3 separate regions of the Homo sapiens genome follow, and all the other regions are linked to region 1. The links are contacts of gene promoters, found by promoter capture Hi-C in human tissues and cell types (Jung and others, 2019). All regions are on one chromosome and are shown on one strand. Each heading gives the region's core, a stretch centred on a gene start or on the middle of the fragment in contact. The rest is flanking DNA. Distances are from core to core; before and after follow the strand shown. Region 1 holds the start of F7 (coagulation factor VII). Region 2 has its middle 26 kb from the start of GRTP1. Region 3 has its middle 7.0 kb from the start of GRTP1.

Region 1 (2,865 bases), core at 233-2,732:
CCGGGACACCCACACTCCCGGGACACCCACACCCTTGGAGGCTGGTGTGAGCAGAGCCGGTGACCGCCCTGGGGTGAAAGCAGATTTGCATCAGAAAAGCTCTCAAGAACTGAGGAAAACCTGATGAAGAACACACGATTATCTGGAAGGAACAGAATGGAGCAAAGAAGATAAAATCGCCTGCACCCCAGTCCCAGGGAAGGCCAAGCTGGAGCGGTCACTTCCTCTCGAGCAGGGAACACCCTCCTTGGGGGGCACTGCAGTAGCCACCCCGCGGGCTGGCTCTTTGCCATGGGAGGGGAAGGAGGTGATGTTGGCCCCCACTGGGCCCCAGGACAAAACCAGTGGCAGTCCCTGCTCACCTCTGTGAGGCCCCGGCTTCCACGGCATGTCCCGTGTTTCTCCTCCTGAGGCCTTAGCGACCCCGCCTGGGGCAGGAAGGTGGCCGGGGTCATAAGGCCATGCTGTGAGCTAGGGCTGCAGCCCCACATCCCAGGCACTGTCCCTCACAGCCCACCCCCCACTCGCCATCCCCACACGCCATCCCCACGCCCCACTAGCCATCCTCACGCCACACCCCCTACTCGCCATCCCCATGCCCCACTCACCATTCCCAGGCCCCAGCCCCACTCGCCATCCCCACCCCCCCATGCCCCATCCTCTGCACCCCACACGCCCTTTCCATGCCCCATCCCCCACACCCCACATGCCCCATCCCCGACACCCCACACACCCCATCCCCCACACCTCCATGCCCCATCCCCTGCACCCCACACGCCCTTTCCATGCCCCATCCCCCACACCCCACACACTTTCCCACACCTCACCCCCACACCCCATGCCCCACATGCTGTTTCCCAGGCCCCACCCCCCCACGGCCCATCCCCCACACCCCACACGCCATCCCCACCCCCGATCCTCCACACCCCATCCCCTACGCCCCACATGCCGTTTCCCACACCCCATCCCCCATGCCCCAGGCGCCATCCCCCACGCACCGTCCCCTACCTGTGCTCCCCAGCCTGGGAGCACCCTGTGCGCACTTCCTGCACTCTGAGAGGCCCCAGACTCCCTGCGCTTGTCCGACCTCACAGGCAGGGGCCCATGGGGGCCAGGAAAGCACCACCCACTCCTAAAGTTCTTTGAAAAATAATCCCGCCAAAGCCTGGGCCACCAAGAAGGGCCTCCCCTCCTGTGCCTGGATGCTGGTTTCTAGAAGGAAAGAAATTGAACAGGAGCCGCCAGAAAACCCTCCTGGTGGATGGGGGTGTCCGGAGCAAGGGCGGGGTTTGGGAAGCCCGGGCTGGCTCCTGGATTTGCCCACTGCCCTTCCACCAAGTTTATGGAGAAAACCTCCCCGGACGCACCTGCAGCCAGGCAGCCCTGAAGCCCAAGCAGAAGGCAGAGGAGCCTGAGGGCCTGGGAGACCATGATGAAATCTCTGCAGTGCTGCCCCTGCCTGTTGACATTCCCCATGGGACTGACGGGCAAAGTTCTCTGCCTCCAAGGGTGACAGAGGGATGGGGGAGGGGAGGACACAGGCGTCCTCTGAACACCCCAGCTGAGAGCTGCACCTGGCCGGCCAGTGGCCATGCATCCCCTGCTGCCCAGCCACTGAGCTCAAGTGGGGGGGACAGGAGAAAGGTCAGGTGACCCCAGCTGTGCTGCAGAGCGGACGGTTTTGTTGCCAGCGTGCAGGTGTTAAGGTGTGTGTGGCACCAACACTTCAAATACGATCTAGAATTCCAAACCCCTAATGTAAGTTGGGAAACAGATTTAAACTGCAGATGAAAACTTGTCCCATAGCAATCATGCGAGTCAAATCTCAAGACTGTATCTTGGGTGTGGATGTAAATATTTGAAGAGAGCCTCCAGACCAGGCCAGCTAGGCCGTTGCCTGCAAGGGAGGCTGGTTTCTTAGGTGAGCCACAGAGCCTCACTGAGAAGTGCCGGGAATAGGATCATTCTGGCCCTGAGCTGGGCACCCCCACTCCGTTTTGACTGCAGGCAGCACCCCCATTCTCCAGCGGTCCACATCTTACGTCTTTTTGTTTGTTTTGTTTTGTTTGTTTGAGACAGAGTCTTGCTCTGTTGCCAGGCTGGAGAGTGCACTGGTGCAATCTCACTGCAACCTCCACCTCCCGGGTTCAAGTGATTCTTGTGCCTCAGCCTCCTGAGTAGCTGGGACCACAGGTGCACGTCACCATGCCTGGCTAATTTATATATATATATTTTTTTTTTTTAGCAGAGATGGGGTTTCACCGTGTTGACCAGGCTGGTTTCGAACTCCTGACCTCAAGTGATCCACATGCCTCAGCCTCCCAAAGTGCTGGGATTACAGGCGTGAGCCACTGTGCCCGGCTGGCGGCAGTCCACGTCATTTCTACCTGCTGTCATGGGCCCAAGCCACAAGCTGTGGTGACTAACCACCCCAGGTTGCCCAGGGACTGAGGGTTCTCAGAATGTGGAACTTTCCATCCCAAAAACACTGGGGTAGACGGTCATCCAAGCCTCCTGGGTTGCCCAGCAGGCCTGTCTGACCCCTCAAGCAGGGAGTATCCTCCATGTGAACAGTTGCATTGCTGATGACTTCTTTGGAAGCTGATGTCCAGTTCTTTTTACGGCTGGAGGGAGGGAGGTGATTCCTTCCCAACAGCCAAGTCTTAGCTCAGGGGTGCCTTTCAAAGCAGCCCCCAGCACCCCCAAAGCCTCCCTGCTTGCTGCTGACCTGCATCTCAGTCCAGAGAGCAGAGCACTTGCTGAGGGGCCGACAGGGCATGTTTTCTCTTCCACCCAGCACAGCTGAAGCCCATCTGTGCCCCTCCATGATATCGATCCCAGGGAGATCGCTTACAAAGTAGCTGC
Region 2 (2,865 bases), core at 104-2,603, 280 kb before region 1:
GTTGTTACCAGACAGGGGTCCCGATCCAGACCCCCAGAGGGCGTTCTTGGATCTCGCGCAAGAAAGAATTCAGAGCGAGTCCATAGAGACAAGTGAAACCAGTTTATTAAGAAAATAAAGAAATAAAGAATGGCTACTCCATAGGCGAGCAGCTGAGGGCTGCTGGTTGCCCATTTTTATGGTGATTTCTTGATGATATGCTAAACAAGGGGTGGATTATTCATGCTCCCCTTTTTAGACCATATAGGGTAACTTCCTGACGTTGCCATGGCATCTGTAAACTGTCACGGAGCTGGTGGGAGTGTAGCAGTGAGGATGACCAGAGGTCACTCTTGTGGCCATTTTGGTTTTGGTGGGTTTGGCCGGCTTCTTTGCTGCAACCTGTCTTATCAGCAAGGTCTTTATGATCTATATCTTGTGCCAATCTCCTATCTCATCCTGTGACTTAGAATGTCTCACTTCCTGGGAATGCCGTCCAATAGGTCTCAGCCTCATTTTACCCAGCTCCTACTCAAGATGGAGTTGCTCTGGTTCAAACATGCCTGACATTTTCTCTTTCCCTTTTATAAGAGAACCCTTAATCCTAAGAGTTGCAGGGGGATGAAGATCCATCTTCTGTAACTTCTTCAGGCTGAATAGGGGCGATGACATTCCTGCCTAACTATTAGGGTCCCTTGTGTTCAGGGTAGAGAGGAGCACAGTCAGAAGGCATCAGTGTGGTGAGGGCTATTCATAACTCTTAAGTTCCAACAAAAGGTGATATCTGGGCAATTAATAAGTGTTCAGTTTAAGAAAACATTGAGCAAGTTTATTTTGCATACCTACACAGAGTACAACAACAATATATTCCACAATAGTAAAGCAAAATAAGTACAATTATTCCAAGTAAACTAAATTAGAAGGCTTTTCATGAACTGGGCAACTATTGGAACCAAGATGATGTGAGGTTGCTAGCCAATTCTAGTGTGCCCAGAATTAGAATATTGATTCAGATTTTTACATTACCCATCCCTCTTATTTCTTCTGAGCAGCAGTCAGAGTTCACTGGTTGGTTCACAGGAATAAGCAAGGTTAGCCTAAATTCCAGAAGCAAATCTAAAAACAACTGATGAGACTAGAATTTAAAAACAACATACCACAGTTCCTGAAACATAATATTTCTCTCTCTAGTTTCCCATTTTTACTAAAGGCAAATCATGGTAAGACTGATTTACTTTATTATACTTGGCCTGATTATTTGTATAAAGGGCAGCAAGAATATTTTTCACATAGGTTCTTTTTAAATTGGCTTTGATGGAACTCTGTTCCGTAGAAGGAATCTTAGCTAAGACTCTTTTAGAACTGAGCCCCGCCATGGGTTTGTACCCTCAAATACCTGTAAGTTGAGTAAATTTCTCTCCTCTTGAGTTTCCAAGATAACTTGGGGCTCCTGGGCCTGTGAGAAAGTGACTTTTTTTTTTTTTGAGACCGAATCTCGCTCTGTTGCCCAGGCTGGAGTGCAGTGGCATGATCTCTGCTCACTGCAAGCTCCGCCCCCCCGGGTTCATGCCATTCTCCTGCCTCAGCCTCCTGAATAGGTGGGACTACAGGTGCCCGCCACCATGCCCCGCTAATTTTTTGTATTTTTAGTAGAGACAGGGTTTCACCATCTTAGCCAAGATGGTCTCAATCTCCTGACCTCATGATCCACCCGCCTCAGCCTCTCAAAGTGCTGGGATTACAGGCATGAGCCACCGCACCCAGCATAAAGTGACATTCTTTACTTACCACGGGTCAGGAACTCTGTATAAGGACTGTGGAGAGAACGTATCAGGTCAGTTTTCCCAAGGGGCTTTATCAGCTCTATAAGTCACGTTTAATTTCTTAAAGGAAAACACATCATTCTAGTCAAATCCTTGGTAAAATAAGCAGTTTCTCCAATTGTGTCCTGTTGCAAAAGAAAACAGATTCCTGGCCAGGCACAGTGGCTCACACCTGTAATCCCAGCGCTTTGGGAGGCCGAGGCAGGCAGACCACCTGAGGTCAAGAGTTCAAGACCAGCCTGGCCAACATGGTGAAACCTCATCTCTACTACAAATACAAAAATTAGCCAGGTGTGGTGGCTGGCACCTGTAATCCCAGCTACTTGGGAGGCAGAGACAGGAGAATTGCTTGAACCTGGGAGGCGGAGGTTGCAGTGAGCCGAGATCATACCATTGCACTCCAGCCTGGGCAACAGAGCAAGACTCTGTCTCAAAAAAAAAAAAAAAAAAGAAAACAGATTCTTATTGCACTTATGCAAATAGCTATATTGCCATAAATTAAGAATACTCACAACTAGTTCCCAAATTTTGGAGAAATTAGGTAGAGAGAAACAAATATGCTCCAAATTTTATTCATACAAGTATACTTATTCAATTGTTAAAAGCTATAACTCGCTCAAAAGTTTCCTTGATTCTGAAAAACAAAACAAAGGATCAGCAATATTTTAAGCAAAAAGTTAAAAAGATTACTTCTGGTTTCTATTAGTTTAGTCCATGTAGTTAACTTCTGTTTGATATTCATGGACATTTCAGCTCTCCATAAGAATTCTAAAAGTTTTTTCCTCTATTCTGATGTCACCATCACCAGTTATCGGAAACCTGCACTCAAGAACATCTGTCAAAGTCCTGTAGCTGATTATAAACCACCTTCTAAAGAGGACCAAAACAAGACAACCATTGTTTGTGGATGACAAAACATCTTCGGACAGCCATCATTAAAGCCACAACTGATAAGGAAATTTGATTACTTCTGTGGCATACAAAATTTTACATAACAATTATATCTATTAATAACATACACTAAATCATGTGAGAATTATAGGAGTTTTAAAAGTAATTTTGG
Region 3 (2,865 bases), core at 260-2,759, 270 kb before region 1:
GAATTGCTTGAACCCGGGAGGCGGAGTTTGCAGTGAGCTGAGATCGCGCCACTGCACAACAGCTTGGGCAACAGAACAAGACTCTGTCTCAAAAAAAATAAAAAATAAGGCCGGGCGTGGTGGCTCAAGCCTGTAATCCCAGCACTTTGGGAGGCCGAGGCGGGCGGATCACGAGGTCAGGAGATCGAGACCATCCCGGCTAAAACGGTGAAACCCTGTCTCTACTAAAAATACAAAAATTAGCCGGGCGTGGTGGCAGGTGCCTGTAGTCCCAGCTACTCGGGAGGCTGAGGCAGGAGAATGGCCTGAACCCGGGAGGCGGAGCTTGCAGTGAGCCGAGATCCCGCCACTGCACTCCAGCCTGGGCGACAGAGCGAGACTCCGTCTCAAAAAAAATAAATAAATAAATAAAAATAAAAAATAAAAAATAAAACAAACAAAAATAAAAAGAAATAAGGATGTCCTTAAGGTACAGTGAGGTCATTCCCGTGGTCCCTGAGCCAACCTGTCTGGTGTCCTCATAAGAGGAGGAGATTAGGGCGCAGGCACACCGGAGCATGACAGTGAGGACATGGGGAGAAGACACTGCCAGCCAAGGAGGGGGACCTCAGGAGGAGGGAGGGGCCTCAGGAGGAGGGAGGGGGCCTCAGGAGGAGGGAGGGGGTCTCAGGAGGAGGGAGGGAGACCTCAGGAGGAGGGAGGGGCCTCAGGAGGATGGAGGGGCCTCAGGAGGAGGGAGGGGTCTCAGGAGGAGGGAGGGGGTCTCAGGAGGAGGGAGGGGGTCTCAGGAGGAGGGAGGGGCCTCAGGAGGAAGGAGGGGGTCTCAGGAGGAGGGAGGGGGCCTCAGGAGGAGGGAGGGGGTCTCAGGAGGAGGGAGGGGGCCTCAGGAGGAGGGAGGGGGTCTCAGGAGGAGGGAGGGGGCCTCAGGAGGAGGGAGGGGGTCTCAGGAGGAGGGAGGGGGCCTCAGGAGGAGGGAGGGGGTCTCAGGAGGAGGGAGGGGGCCTCAGGAGGAGGGAGGGGGTCTCAGGAGGAGGGAGGGGCCTCAGGAGGAGGGAGGGGGTCTCAGGAGGAGGGAGGGGGTCTCAGGAGGAGGGAGGGAGACCTCAGGAGGAGGGAGGGGCCTCAGGAAGAGCCAGCCCTGGGCCTGAAGAAGGGGAGAGAATGAATTCCCACCATCCAGCCCAGCCCGGCCGGCAGCCCCTCGCCACAGCATCCCTGGGGCATGTGCAGCGCTGCACTGTGCGGGCTCCACTGGGGAAGGGAGAAGAGGGGAAGGGGGTGGGGAGCAACCACAGCCCCCACCAAGCTTCCTGCCCTGGCCCTACACTGGGCCCTTCAGGGCTTGGCAGTCAGGCTAGAGCAGGCTCAGGTGGGACCGCCCGCTCCGAACAAACATCGCTTCCTGAAGGCTTCCTGGATGGCCCGGAGACGATTTGCTCCGTCTCTCATTCTCGCAAAGCAGTTTTTTGTTGTTGTTGTGGTTTTTTTTGGAGATGGAGATGGAGTCTGGCTCTGTCTCCCAGGCTGATCTCGCCTCACTGCAACCTCCACCTCCCAGGTTCAAGCAATTCTCCTGCCTCAGCCTCCCAAGTAGCTGGGGTTACAGGCTCCCGCCACCACGCCTGGCTAATTTTTGTATTTTTAGTAGAGACAGGGTTTCAACATGTTGGCCAGGCTAGTCTCGAACTCCTGACTTCATGTGATCCACCCACCTCATCCACCCAAAGTGCTGGGATTACAGGTGTGAGCCACCAGCGGCCTCATTCTCACAGAACTTTATTGCGGTTTTTATGCAATGCCATATTGTATTGCAACATTTCATAAAAATGTTCCTGTTATCTACTATGAAAATAGCACCTGCTTATGGGTAGCACTCTTAAAATTTTCTCCTAAACCAAATTGTAAGCCCCCACATACCCAGAGCCTAGCAAAATACCCGATGTTCAAAAATCTGAAAAAATGGGCCAGGCGCGGTGGCTCACGCCTGTAATCCCAGCACTTTGGGAGGCTGAGGCGGGCGGATCACGAGGTCAGGAGATCCAGACCATCCTGGCTAACACGGTGAAACCCTGTCTCTACTAAAAATACAAAAAAAATTAGCCGGGGGTGGTGGCGGGCGCCTGTAGTCCCAACTGCTCGGGAGGCTGAGGCAGGAGAATCGCTTGAACCCGGGAGGCAGAGCTTGCAGTGAGCCGAGATCGCGCCACTGCACTCCAGCCTGGGTGACAGCGAGACTCCGTCTCAAAAAAAAAAAAAATTCTGAAAAAATGAAAGAGGCAAAGCAACTGGAAGAGCCTGACTTTAAAGCCGCCTCCGAGTCAGCCTCTTGCTTCCTGAGGGAGCCCGGGGTGGCCGGGAGCTGCCCCACTCCAGGAGAGCCTGCAGCCTGCACCTTGCCCTGCCATCCCCCTCAACGTGCTTTCCTTCTTCAGAGGCCTTCTCGGACAGAACCCCTACAAGAGAGGCCCTGAGGTGACCATCCTTAAGGTGGGCCTCCCGCACTGGCAACCTCCCAGAGGCTGATAGCAGTGGTCCCTGAGATTGGGAGGGTCCTGAATAGGGGCTGGGTCAAGCCTGCTGCCCTTTGACGGCCATAAAACCACCAGGGTTATAGGCCGGGTGCAGTGGCTCACGCATGTAATCCCGGCACTTTGGGAGGCTGAGGTGGGAGGATCATGAGGTCAGGAGATCGAGACCATCCTGGCTAACACGGTGAAACCCCGTCTCTACTAAAAATACAAAAAAATTAGCCGGGCGTGGTGGCGGGCGCCTGTAGTCCCAGCTACTCGGGAGGCTGAGGCAGGAGAATGGCAGGAACCCGATCGCGCCACTGCCCTCCAGCCTGGGCGACAGAGCGAGACTCCG

Evidence for each region. Contacts are between HindIII fragments. The study calls those that stand out against the background at their distance.
Region 2: a fragment that was not itself captured here is called in contact with the fragment with the promoter of F7 in region 1 in 2 of the 25 tissues and cell types used here (heart left ventricle and lymphoblastoid cells).
Region 3: a contact is called between a fragment that was not itself captured here and the fragment with the promoter of F7 in region 1, in 3 of the 25 tissues and cell types used here (dorsolateral prefrontal cortex, heart right ventricle and spleen).

What each region holds. Positions count from the first base shown.
Region 1 is chr13:113,104,408-113,107,272 of GRCh38, reverse strand. It overlaps F7 (coagulation factor VII), which reads right to left and starts at 1,482. Exons shown (of 8, transcript NM_019616.4): 1 at 1,368-1,482. The coding sequence starts at 1,431. The HindIII fragment of the contact is 23,631 bases long and covers 1-2,865 here.
Region 2 is chr13:113,388,447-113,391,311 of GRCh38, reverse strand. No RefSeq gene overlaps it. Among named protein-coding and RNA genes, the nearest start is that of GRTP1, 26 kb to the right of the region's middle. The HindIII fragment of the contact is 4,940 bases long and covers 1-2,865 here.
Region 3 is chr13:113,369,655-113,372,519 of GRCh38, reverse strand. No RefSeq gene overlaps it. Among named protein-coding and RNA genes, the nearest start is that of GRTP1, 7.0 kb to the right of the region's middle. The HindIII fragment of the contact is 8,985 bases long and covers 1-2,865 here.